2 separate regions of the Homo sapiens genome follow, and region 1 is linked to region 2. The links are contacts of gene promoters, found by promoter capture Hi-C in blood cells and fetal thymus (Javierre and others, 2016). All regions are on one chromosome and are shown on one strand. Each heading gives the region's core, a stretch centred on a gene start or on the middle of the fragment in contact. The rest is flanking DNA. Distances are from core to core; before and after follow the strand shown.

Region 1 (6,805 bases), core at 4,029-6,528, 140 kb before region 2:
GGCTAAAGACCCCTGGAGTTATCACTTTTAGATTCACACACTACTTAGTTATTTCTCATTTTTGGCCTAGCACAATCTTCAATAACCATGAAGACACTGACAACAAAATGTCCAAGTTTTAAAGGCACAGAAAATGCCAACCCAAACTTCAGGTAAACTACACGTATTCAGGAAAGAGTGATGAGGAAGGAAGGTACCGTGTGCACTTGTCACCTAGATGCTTTACTCTGCCTTTTCTTCATGTGCCAGTCATGCAACCCACCGTTCAAGATACCTACAGTCTCCTCTTAGTAGGTGAGTGACCTTGGGTAAGTTACTCAACCTTTTCTTTGCCTCAGTTTCTTTAATATGGTACTTACAACAGTGTCAGGCACACAACAAATATTATTAGTGTGTTGATCCTGATCCTTGGCAACTTCTCTTTTCTCTCAACCATATCCAAAAGTTACCATTTCCTTCCCAAAGTGCATATTTTTAAGACTATCCATAAAATGCTTCCTAGGGCAAGCATCCTCCAAAGGGTCTTGTTTAAGGACTATGGCAGACCCCAAGACTGGTTCATAATCTAGGGTGGACCAAGGGGGCTAGCCCAAAAGGGAAGCTAAGTGTTATGACTAGATTGAAACTCTGGTGCCAGCTATTTTAGGTTTTCACATACAATTCTTTATATAACTGGTAAACCATAAACTGGCTTCCCCTTTGGTGGATATACTTTTAAGTATTTCTGGGATGTGTTTATATGGCAGTTAGCTGAAAGTCAGCAGTCAGCTAAAATCTTGTAATCAAATAATGCACAAGGTAGTGATATTTACTTGAAATAGTAGTACTTTTTAATATCAAAATAATTTTTTTTTTGAGACAGGGCCCCACTCTGTCACCCAGGCTAGAGTGCAATGGCACAATCAGAGCTCATTGCAACCTCTGCCCCCTGGGCTCAGGTGATCCTCCCACCTCAGCCTCCTGAGTAGCCAGGACTACAGGCATGTGCCATTGTGCCTGGCTAACTTTTGTTTTTTCATTTTTTTGTAGAGACGCAGTTTTGCTATGTTGCCCAAGCTGGTCTTGAACTCCTGGGCTCCAGTGATCTGCCCGCCATGGCCTCCCACAGTGTTGGGATTTCAGGTGTGGGCCACTGCACCCAGCCTGACTTTAAAAGTTCATGGGAGGCCGAGGCGGGCGGATCACGATGTCAGGAGATCGAGACCATCCTGACTAACATGGTGAAACCCCGTCTCTACTAAAAATACAAAAAAAAAAAAAAAAAAAATTAGCCGGGCGTGGTGGCAGGCGCCTGTAGTCCCAGCTACATGGGAGGCTGAGGCAGGAGAATCGCATGAACCCAGGAGGTGGAGTTTGCAGTGAGCCGAGACCACGCCACTGCACTCCAGCCTGGGTGACAGAGCGAGACTCTGTCTCAAAAAAAAAAAAAAAAAAAAAAAAAAAAAAAGTTCTTCATGTGCTTTCCAAAAAAGTTGTATGGTTGGAAAAGTCATCAAAATTGAGGAGACATGAAGAACCACAGAAAAAGAGTAAGTATTTTGCTCAATTTTTTCAAAACAATAACTCTACTTTGTGGTCAGTAGAAATGACTACAATTTTTAGAAATTAAATGTCCTCCACATCATCACTAAGTAAACATAGTGAACAAAGAGTTAGGTATGATCAGTTTGAAGGGCAATTATATTCACTGGCATGGAATGCTGGCATGTTTAGGTGGAGTACTATTGTAATCACTGCTGTTAAGTCTCAAAAGAGCACTAAAGAACACCTAATTCAGAAACTACAGTGTTAAGCCAGGAACTAGAGCTTATCTTTCCAGGATGGGCGTGAATCCTTGAGGTCCCTGCCCCCTTCCAAGAGCAGAGCACCACAATATGACAGAAATAAGGGGTTTCCCCCTTTATTTAATAAAGGGAAATCTTCTGCTCTGCCCCACTTACTGTAAGTATTGTGCTCCACTGGTTTAAGATGAGAACCAGAGACTCTCAGGCAGTAAGTAACCTAGAGAAGGAGGTGAAGAGTCTCCACAACTGACCTAGATCATTAGTTTGTCTAGGTCAAGCCAGGTTAAGTAGCTAGCAGGAAATTGCTTAGCTCAATCCTACTGTTAAACACATTCATTTCCTTATCCAAAACAAACAAAAAAAAACCAATATATACATCTTGGTAAAAACACATAGCAAACATACTATGTGAGTAACTAAATTAAAATGCATTTCCACTACTGTAAGTTTGCTAAACTGGAAATCAATTAGGTTTTATATTAGGTAGAAAATAAACTTCAGAATCTCAAGACCCTCAAACCAGCACTTCAGACAATTCCTAAGTACAATGCTCTTTTTTTATTCCCTGCCTAAACTTTCTTTTTGGTTAGAAATTTAGTATTGAATATCAAAGTTGTTTTAACATAAACTTTCCTCATTTCATCAGGTTTACCACACTTAAATGGAGATATTTACATATTTACAGATAAATATATCAGAATCTTATATATTCTGTATATAATAATTGTATAAGACTTAATTATTACTTTATTTTATAGATAATAAAACAGAATACTGAGAGATTATATGACTTAAGTGGCCAAGCTAGGGTGACACTTTAGATCTCCAGCCTCACTCTTGGGCTTCTGCTTCTGCCATTTCTCCACTTTTGATGCTGAATTAGAATTCTCGGTGGATTTTCTAGATCAATAAGTATTTGTCAAGTCTCCTAAGGTTAAAGCACTGAACCAGGTGATAATGATGCAGGTGTGTGGCTTTAAAAAGCTGAGTAGTAAAATTCAGACTATAAACATAAACAAGGGAAAAAAATCTGTTACTGATACAATTTAAAATGCAAGCAGGGTTTTGTTTTGATGTATGCAAATCCCTTCCAGTTTTTCTTCTTTCTGTTCTACCTCAGCACTTTAATATTAGATCTAAATGCAGTAAAATAAAAAGTCAGGAAAGGGGGAACAGCTACTCATATTTTTAAAAAGTTTTTTGTCTAAACCAAAGCTAACTTACCTCTACATCTGTTTGAAAGTTAAAAAGATCTATTCTTTGCCAGTTGCTTCCATCCAGGGCTAAGATGTTCCAAGCCTGGAAGGTGGGAGGTAAAGGAAGAGGGATTGGGATGAAAGAAACACATTTATTGAGACTATTAAAGAAAGTCTTGATTAACCTTTATTTCCAAACTCCTATTTTTGATGTATATTAAGTTAATCATCAAATGCAAAATTATACCATTATGTTATATTAAGTATAAAAGATAATAAAATTTTAATTTTCAGTAATTTGAACTAAAACTCATTCTAATAAAACTTGATATTTATTGATTAAAAAATCTGGTGAATACTCTACCTTGGAAATCTGTGCACATCGGCACAAAGTTACTATATCCAAGAAGGAAAATATTCTACAGAGAGAGGAAAAAAACACAAAAACGAGATGGTGTTAACATTTCAGGATAATTATAACTTGAAAGATAAACTCTAATCCGCCACCTGGATACATAAGTTTTTTCAAGATTCCTCAATCTGAAATATACAAGTGCACTATAACTTTACATCACTACAGTGAAATATTAAGTGTTTGCATGTTCAGAAGCTATTTTGGACACACAATACAAATTACCTTAGAACTCATTAAGCTTATATTTCCCTTGTTCTAAGTAATGGACACAGGAAAGACCATAACTGGTTCTATTTGAAGACCAACTCTCTAGCATAAGCCCTCTTTTGGTGGTAGATGCACTGAACAGGCTCAGATGCCTGAGCCTCAAATAACACTGTCAAAAAAAGCTTGATGACAAAGCCCATTTGGTTTGAAGTATTTGTTTGCCTGGCAGAAAGATGGAGCTCATTAGTTGGCAAAGTCTATAAGTGATCAGTTTTTCCTAAGCAAAAGCCAAGGAGCCAGAGAACATAGGAAAGATGGGGCGGGAAGAGGTGGGGGGAAGAAAAGCAGACAGAAGCAAACAAAATCTTGGTTGGCATCAGTAATGCCTTAGAGGAAGCAGTAGCTGCCAGCATGGCAGGGGACTGAGTGAAGCCTCGACATTCTGGCAGTCAAGGAGAGGAGCTGCTGCTCATAGTATGTGAGCAAACAGCCGTGTGCGCCTCAGCACTGCAGAGTGACAGCTAAAAACAAAGGGCAGCTTTTCTGTGAGAAGAAGGGTGGACAGGGTTGAAGTCAGGAACAAGAGTAGTGCCTCAGTTTTCAGAGTCCTGGAAAGTAAATATGAGAGTCTGTGCCTCTGAGTGTGGAAGGGGGAGAGTGGTTAAGATGGCGAACAGCCACCTATAATGTTCCTCAAAATTCTTCAAAGGCAACAATCGGTGGTGAGATAAAAATCCACGGACTCAGGGAAGAAGAGTAGAATCATAAAACATGAAAGTGTTGTACCCTACAATAATGCACCCACATGCAGTACCATGGGATACTGACTGCATAGATGCCATCCTACAATATAGGCTACAATCATTTTCTAGTGAAAAGCAAAGGATAGAAGCATAATAAGGGCTACACTGACTTTAAAAGATTCAGTGGATCTTGGCTGGGCGCGGTGGCTCACGCCTGTAATCCCAGCACTTTGGGAGGCCGAGGTGGGCGGATCACGAGGTCAGGAGATCGAGACCATCCTGGCTAACACGGTGAAACCCCATCTCTACTAAAAATACAAAAAATTAGCCGGGCGAGGTGGCGGGCACCTGTAGTCCCAGCTACTCAAAAGGCTGAGGCAGGAGAATGGCGTGAACCCGGGAGGCGGAGCCTGCAGTGAGCCGAGATAGCGCCACTGCACTCCAACCTGGGCGACAGCGAGACTCCGTCTCAAAAAAAAAAAAAAAAAAGACTCAGTGGATCTTTGTACATAGAAAAATGCTGGTGGCTAAAATATGTGTACTTAAACATACATATTCAATATATTTTAGGATATCTACACATCTACCTTGCCCAACACAAAGGCTCTCCTGCCCCTAATAGCTGTGTTCTGTGACATATGACCATCCCACAGCTAGCCACATCTGATTATCAGCTCCCTACAGAAACAAACACCAAACAGAGAAACTAGCCTGGTACAGTAGAATCATATTTCATGCAGGGATTGGGTTCTAAAAGCATAAGCCAAAGGTAAAAAAAGAGTTAGCTGTTTCCCTTGAAAATACCTTAAGAGCATACCACCTTTATCACGTCTCAGTAATAACAATACTGGTAATAACAAAAATAGTTAACATTGATTATGCACCAACTATGTGCCAACCATGGTTTATATGCTAGTTCACTGCTATGAGGTGTTGTGCTATTACTATCTCCATTTTACAGATAAGGACACTGAGCATAGAGGTTAAGTAACCTGCCCAGGGCACACTGAACTAGGATTTGAACCCAGGTAGTCTGGTTCAAGAGCACAAGCCATGACCACTACATATACTGCTTTGGAACGCTTAACACAGCTGCTTTTCCCTCAGGATTGGGCTAGATCCTGAGAAAGAAAAGAAACTTTTAATCTAAGAGATGTGAGCCGCTATGTGGGCTCTAGAGTGACTGACACAAGTAGCTATAAAGTAACCTAACAATACCATATGCTTGATACTCTAACTCCTACCCCATAGTTCAACAATGTACGATCAATCACTAATCAATGCTACTTCTGGAAACCCGTAAGAGTTCCCAAAAACAACTTTTGTAATTGCCCCTCTCCTGATTCATCCTTTTTTCTTTAGAAACTCGAGCAGGATGGGCACAGTGGCTCACACCTGTAATCTCAGCACTTTGGGAGGCTGAGGCGGGTGGACCACAAGGTCAAGAGATTGAGATCAACCTGGTCAACACAGTGAAACCCCATCTCTACTAAAAATATAAAAATTAGCTGGGCGTGGTGGTGTGCACCTGTAGTCCCAGTTACTTAGGAGGCTGAGGCAGGAGAATCGCTTGAACCCAGGAGGCAGAGGTTGCAGTGAGCCGAGATCCGCCACTGCACTCCAGCCTGGCGACAGAGCGAGACTCCATCTCAAAAAAACAAAACAAAACAAACCAACTCGAGCAACTCCTTTATTCTCGGGATCACTTCCCAGTGTTACCTGAGCTGCAATCTCAAACTTGCCCCAAATAAACTCTCTAGATTAATTTTGCCTCAGTTTCCTTATTTAGGTCGACAGTGCTATTTCTTAACTGATAATAATAAATGAAGTAGTTTTCGTTTAGTGAGTATGTTGTTTGGAACAAACTGGACTCATGCTTCACTCACAAGTGAAGCAAGAGCTCACACGCTGAGACACATAGGAACCAACAGGTGCAACAGGAATTCACATTTCTCATCTCATCTCATACCTAGTTTTATGATTACTGAATGAAAAAATAGATTGCCTAAAGTATTTACATTATTTCCCATCTCTCCCCAACCTTTTAAACTGAAAGTAGTTGAATTTGCACAAATAGGCGTGGCAATACTCCAAACTACCACACTGACACCAAAGCCAATTCCTGACTCATGTTTCGACGAGTAAAAGTAATGCCCTGAATTACACAGCCTGGGATACTGTCAATAGAAACGGAGATAGCGACATGAGTGGCAAACTGAGTTCTGACTCCTTCAAAACATTCTTTCCTAGAAAGTGCTTCCTTATCTCAAATGTGATAGCCTCAGCTTTACAAGGCAAGCACTGCAATAGCACCCTGGTTATAAATAATCACAGGGGAGTAAGGGATTGGATATACTTTTGGACTTTGTATTCTGCTCCATTAGTCTGTCTTTGTGCCACTAAGGCTGTTTTAATTATGAAGCTTTAATAATAAGTCACAATGTCTGGTAACGTAAGTCC
Region 2 (6,565 bases), core at 2,464-4,963:
AGGACTGACAGGATTTTGTGTTTCTCCTGTTTTATTTCTAGTTATTCTTAATCAAATGAAAGAAAAAAGTAGATGAGCTGTGCTGGTTGTTTCCCATTTGCCATTCCAGATCCACTCTTTAACCTTCTTTGTCCAACCCTGCACCCTAACAAGGTGACTTCTAAGGACCACTGCACCTGTGCTTCTTTACCCTTTAGCTTTTAAATGGTTCAGCCAATAGAAGGTATCAAGAGGAATATCAAGGATAGAAGGAGAGAGAGGTCAGGGTCTTTCTTCCTCACTCCCTCCCTACCAGACCAGTGGCAGCATCTTGATTTTTCTACCTATGGGTATCCTTTTTTTCAGGCGGCCTCTTTCATGGCCACAGCTGTTGCTGGTTTGGTAACACCTCAACCTTCCCTCACACCTTCAGGCCTCACCATGGCTACAGCTTCCAGCTGTTGCTAGACCCAGGAGTTTCACCACCCCTTATTGGTTCTCTCGGTCCTGTCCACATCACTGCATGTGGTCCTTTCATCAAACTCTCTTCTATTAAACTTTTTTTTTTTTTTTTTAAAGACAGAGTCTTGCTCTGTCGCCCAGGTTGGAGTGCAGTGGCACAATCTTGGCTCACTGCAATGTCCGCCTCCGAAGGTCAAGCAATTCTCCTGCCTCAGCCTCCCAAGTAACTGCGACTACAGGCACGTGCCACCACGCCTGGCTAATTTTTTGTATTTTTAGTAGAGATGGGGTTTCACTGTGTTAGCCAAGATGGTCTCAATCTCCTGACCTCGTGATCCACCCACTTCCCAAAGTGCTGGGATTAGAGGCGTGAGCCACCGCACTTGGCCTTCTATTAAACCTTCTTTATTTTTTAGTGCAAGGACTGAAATTCTGATTTTTAAAGTATTTGTTACTGAAGTATAAGTATTCAATTAAATACAAAGATTTCAAGTGTACAGTTTAGGGATGTTTGACAAACATATACACTCATGTGACCACCATCCCCATCAGGAATAGAACATTTTCATCACTTCAGATGTTCCCTTGTGTTCCCGTTCTATCAAAGGCAACCACTGTGTTGACTGTTTTCACCACAGATTAGTTTTGTCCTGTCTTGAACTTCATATAAATGGAATTACACAGTATGAATTGTTTTGTGTAAGACTTCTTTCACTCTGTATGCTATCCTTGAGATTCTTTCACGTGTTGAGTAGTTCATTCAGTAGTTCATTCCTGTTGTCGAATAGTATTCTATTGTGTGAATATGACAGTTTGTTTTTCTATTCATCTGTTGATGATATCCGAATTCCTTCTAGTTTTTGATCATTGCAAATAAAGCTGCTATGAACAGTTGTGCACAAATATTTTTGTGAATATAGGTTCTCATTCTTTTGGATATAATCCTAGGAGAGGAATTTCTGGGTCCTAAGGCAGGTATATGTTTAGATGGAACAGCCGGTTTTCTAAAGCAACCATACCAATTACCCTTACAGCATGCCATCTCCTCACATCAGGACAGGCCAAGACAATTGTGAATAAGCATAATCTTGAAAATGTTAGGAGAATTAAGTAGTAATATTCAATTGACTGTTTTTAAAATGTTCCTAGGCAAAGCTCCTGAGTGAGTGAGTTGGTAGCTCTTGGCAGGTACCTTCTGATCCCTCCCCTCCGTTCTCAGCACTAACCAGGCTTTAAAATGACCCCTCCAGTCCAGACATGTGAAGTCTCACTCCTTAGGTTACCAGCTAACTGTTAAAAGGGAAGGAGCTGGCCGGGTGTGGTGGCTCATGCCTGTAATCCCAGCACTTTGGGAGGCCGAGGCCGGCGGATCACGAGGTTAAGAGATCGAGACCATCTGGCCAACATGGTGAAACCCCGTCTCTACTAAAAATACAAAAATTAGCTGGGCGTGGTGGTGCACGCCTGTAGTCCCAACTACTCGGGAGGCTGAGGCAGGAGAATCGCTTGAACCTGGGAGGCTGAGGTTACAGTGAGTCAAGATCGCTCCACGGTACTCCAGCCTGGCAACAGAGCGAGACTCTATCTCAAAAAAAAAAAAAAAAAAAAAAAAAAGGGAAGGAGCTAAGTAAATTCATTTATACTTGTCAGGCCTCACTGCATTTAACACCTCACTGCATTAACAGCTACCACGCCCGGCTAATTTTTGTATTTTTGTAAAGATGGAAATTTCACCATGTTGGCCAGGCTGGTCTCCAACTCCTGATCTCAGGTGATTGGTCGGCCTCCGCCTCCCAAAGTGCTTGGATTACAGGCCTGGGCAACCGTGTCCGGCCAGTATTTGTATTTTGAAAGCAAAGTTTAATTATCCAAAATAATTACTCATTAATAGTAGCCCTTGTAGTTGATGGGAAGTAATAAGGAGAGAAGAAATCTTTTCAGTACATTTCAACAATTAATGCAAGCTGAAAAATGACACCTGTAGTAAATCAGATGTGGATTCAAATCCAAGTTCTTACTGTGAAAAGAAAGTAAATTATTTCAATGTCTGTGTCCTGGTTCATTAAATGAGGATAATCATCTGCCCCTTTAGCACCAATCACTTTTTCAATTGTAAGTATATTTTATTTAAGTGTGAACATTTTTAGGACCGATTGCAGCCACATTCAGGGTCTAGCACAGGGACAGGCATGTATGGGCACTCAATAGATGTTTGTTGACCCATACATCAATATAAAAGGGATTTGCAAATTGTAGAGCACCGCGCATGCCTCAGTTATAACAATACTGATCTTTATTACTCTACCTATGAAGAAAGCAAGTTCTTCTTTCACTGAACAGGGCTGGTGGTAGGGAGACAGGCTAGGGGCGAGCAGGAAGAAGGAATCAAGTCAAACAGGGACCCCTGCAGCAGAATCCATTGGGACACTTTAACTTAGAGTGTAGATTCCCAGACCAGACCGACAGAGTCCGAATCTCAGACCCTTTCGAGGTCAAAAAGCCCTGATTTGGGAGGTGGGTGATAATGGTGACAATCTCACTAGCCCTCTTACTGCTCCTTGAGAAATACTAGCGTACCAGGAAAAGTGGTGAAGGAAGCGTTCCTGAAGATATCCTTTCCTCAGTGACTCTCAAACTTCGCTTTTAGGAAAGAGGAATTTCGCTATTCCATGCGTTTCACACCTTAGAGTGAGGGTGGTAGGTAACTTAGATTTTCCTCTCTTCATTAAAAAAAAAAAAAAAAAAGAGTGTTGGTGGGGAGGGGGAGGAGGCCAGTTGAAAAGTAGAGGCCGAGGACAGAGTTAGACACTCGTTGTCTAACGGCCCTGCCGGAGGGGCTCCGCCTGTCAGACTGCGTCACCCTCTCGCCAAGGGTCCCCCAGACGGGCGGGGGCTCCTTGCGGCCGGCTAGCTACTCTCCCCGCCTCCCTGCGCCCTCGCCCTCCGCCCCGCTGTACCCGCAGAGCGCGCGGCCCAGCGCAGCCCCTTTTGGCACCGAGGTTTCCAGGTGCCCAGCGCGAAGGCGGAGCCGGGTTACAGCCGCCTCCTCGGCGCCACAGAGAAGACCCCCGGGAGTTCGGCGGCCCAGGCGCTCCGGCTCTGCGTCCCGAGCCTCCCCCGGCTCTCCGCGCTCCTCCCTCTCGGCGCGCCCGGCGCGAAGCCTGCGATTCGTGAGCCGAGCGCAGAGCGCAGAGCCGAGTGGCGCACGCTGGGCAGTGGCCTGGGCAACCCCAAACGCAGCCAGAGCCCTCACCCGAGTCCGCTGGCCCGCGCACTCCCGGACCATGACTGCCGAGGGACCCAGCCCGCCTGCCCGTTGGCACAGACGCCTCCCCGGGCTCTGGGCGGCGGCGCTGCTCCTGCTCGGTCTGCCGCGCCTTTCGGTGCGGGCGGATGGTGAGTGTGCGGGAGGCGGCGGGGCGGGGGGTGGAGCGTGGGGTCCGGGCAGGGAGGGCGTAGCTCGCCGGGGCTGCTCCCTCTGACCGGCCCGGCAAGCGGCAAGCGCAAGCCTGAGAGGAACGAACGAGCCGCGGTCCTGCGACCCAGCATCCCTCTCCTGGCCCACCAAGTCTCCGCGTGCCCGTGCGCCCAAACGCCCGCCTGGTGCCTGGACCCTCCCTTAGCGCCGAGCGCGTAGGTCCCGCAGTCCCGCCGCTGGCTTTCCTAAGGTCTCCAAGAAAGCTCGAATGAAATCACCTCTAAGGTGCCCTAGAACCTCCTCTGCTAAGGGGTGATTTTCCGCCGTCCCTCAGTTTCTCAACGTCTATTAATGTGCCCCTGAGGACACCGCCGATGGTTAGAAAACTCCCTCGGATATTTTGGCTTGGTCCGGGAAGACGTGAAAGATGAGTGGGAATCAGCGAGGCTAAGAGAGAGAGAATGGCCTGGCCAGAGGGAAAAGCACGTGCAAAGGCTGTCTCTGAGTGACAGGAAAAACGGGACAAATGATAAAGCAAAGTACCTGGAGGCGAGGGGACGTCTTGAGACATGAGGTAGAGAAGTGGGCAAGGGCCAGATTATGGCAGGTTCTCTGAGAATTGATCCACTTCTTGTTCGTTTGCTTGGTTTTTCAGCCTGAATTTAGCTTGTAATACTTGCCCTAAAATGAGCAGGATTGGAGCTCTGTATCCATTCCCTTTTGAAAAGCTAATTCAGCTGTGTTTTCATATTAGAACAAAATCCCGCTGACTTGGTACAGGAGCATCTGAAGGAAGCAAGCTTAAAGCCAGCAGTTCTCACACCCATGAGGTAGTTCTAGCTTAGGACGAATTAGACTGATAAAAGAGAAAAGCCCTCCGTCAATTTAGGATGCGTTGTATATTTTAAAATGTGATTCTTGTTTAGCCAACGATATTGAGTGAAACTAGAAGACATGGGGAAAAAAAAAAAAAGCATGGTTGTCAGGAAAAGGGGAAAGCCAAGGAAAAAACCGTCTAGGTCGTAGAGTTTTTAGTGCTCTCTGTTTTAAGTGCAGGCTTGAAAAGCTCTCCGTTCCTAATTAAGGATGAATGTCGTATTTCTCCATATCCTCAGAGAGAGTGTTAGAGACAAAACATTTTTAACTTTGAAGGCTGTTAGTAACCACTGCTAATTTTTTTAATTGACATGTATTTCACATAAAATTTGTCATTTTAAAATATACAGTTAAGTGGGTTTTAGTATATTCATTAGGTTGTGAAAACCATGGTTTGCATGCATCTAATTCCAGAACATTTCCATCACTCCTCAAAAGAATCCCATACCTATTAGCAGTTTACTGATAATTCTTCACTGTAGTGTTTTTTGACTGACATTGAGCCATGAAAATTAAGCTGATTTTAAAGAATGCAAGTAGAATAAATTGGAGCTAATATTAATCTTTGAACAAGATATATTGTGCCAACTTTAATTCCTTTTAAATAAATATTTTTGCAATCCATAAGGTTTTAGAGTTTCATCCCATTATAACTGTTTAAGTGGAATGCCATGTGGATAAGGATCAATATTTTGTGCCTGTCTAGCTTGATACGGGTCATAGAAAATTAAAGGCAGAAATGTCACTGGTCAAAGAGAAAGTAAGGACAACACCAGAGCACATGATTCTTTGTTACTGCTTGCCAGAAATGATTCCTTTTCTTCATTCTCCTTCCTTTTCTTTCCCCACTTCCTCAGTGGACAATTATAGGTATACTTCCTTATAGTAAACTCAATTTTATGAGCTCCAACTTTTATACTAGAACCAGGAAGAGTTATAAGCTATATTATCAAAGGATTCTTTTTGGTACTAAATTCTTAGCTGCCACCAGTTCCTACATTTAGTTATTTGTGTGCTATGGTGACGGGAGGAAGAAGAAGAAATGCTCAGCTTAAGTATGATGAATTACAGATGTTTGAAGAGATAGATTTGGAGAGAAACTATTTCTAAAAACGTGTCATCTGTATAAGGATGGTCTTTGAAATCATGTGCGTGGGCAGAATCCTAAGGAAAAATTTTACAGCAAGAAGACCTAGAACTGAGCCTGGAGTGAGGGAAGCTGGTTTGGGATTATTGAATCTATGTTTATGAAACATATTAGCCTGTAATTTTCATTTTTTATAATATCTTTGCCAAGTGTTGATATCAAACGTATGATGGTTCCTAAACCAAATTGTAAAGTTGCTCCTTCTTTAACTCTGAAAGGGTTTCTGCGGGTGAGGGCTTTTGTTTGTTTGTTTTGGTGTGAGATCATCTGTGTCTGAAGGTTTTCTTGTAGGAAGATTTTAAATAATGAATTTAATTTGTTTGGTAGATAAAGAAGTATTCAGATTTTAAAATTAATTTTGTGTCAATGTTGCTAAGTTTTATTTTTTAAAGTTTTTCCCCCACTTCATTTAGATTGTCTAATGTGGCATATACAATGTAATAATCTCTAATTATCATTTCAGGGTCCACGGGATCTGTAGTGATGTTCCCTTTCATTCTTGATATTGGTACTTTGTGTTTTCTCTTTTTTTGTCTTGATCAGTCTTAGTAGGGGTTTATCCGTTTTATTATTCATTTGAAAAAAGCAACTTTTGGCTTTATTTTCTTGATTGTGTGTCTGCTTTCCGTTTTACTGATTTCTGCTCTATCTGTATTATTTCCTCCTTCTACGTTAGAAGATTT

The links. Contacts are between HindIII fragments. The CHiCAGO score rates a contact against its expected background, and 5 or more counts as called.
Region 1: a contact is called between a fragment that was not itself captured here and the fragment with the promoter of SUSD5 in region 2, in 3 of 17 cell types (endothelial precursors, M2 macrophages and M1 macrophages). The highest score is 8.7, in endothelial precursors.

The regions. Positions count from the first base shown.
Region 1 is chr3:33,355,561-33,362,365 of GRCh38, reverse strand. FBXL2 (F-box and leucine rich repeat protein 2) reads right to left here. Exons shown (of 15, transcript NM_012157.5): 3 at 3,345-3,399; 4 at 3,009-3,083. Among named protein-coding and RNA genes, the nearest start is that of UBP1, 81 kb to the left of the region's middle. The HindIII fragment of the contact is 2,983 bases long and covers 3,787-6,769 here.
Region 2 is chr3:33,215,958-33,222,522 of GRCh38, reverse strand. SUSD5 (sushi domain containing 5) reads left to right here and starts at 3,713. Exons shown (of 5, transcript NM_015551.2): 1 at 3,713-3,837. The coding sequence starts at 3,726. The HindIII fragment of the contact is 11,893 bases long and covers 1-4,661 here.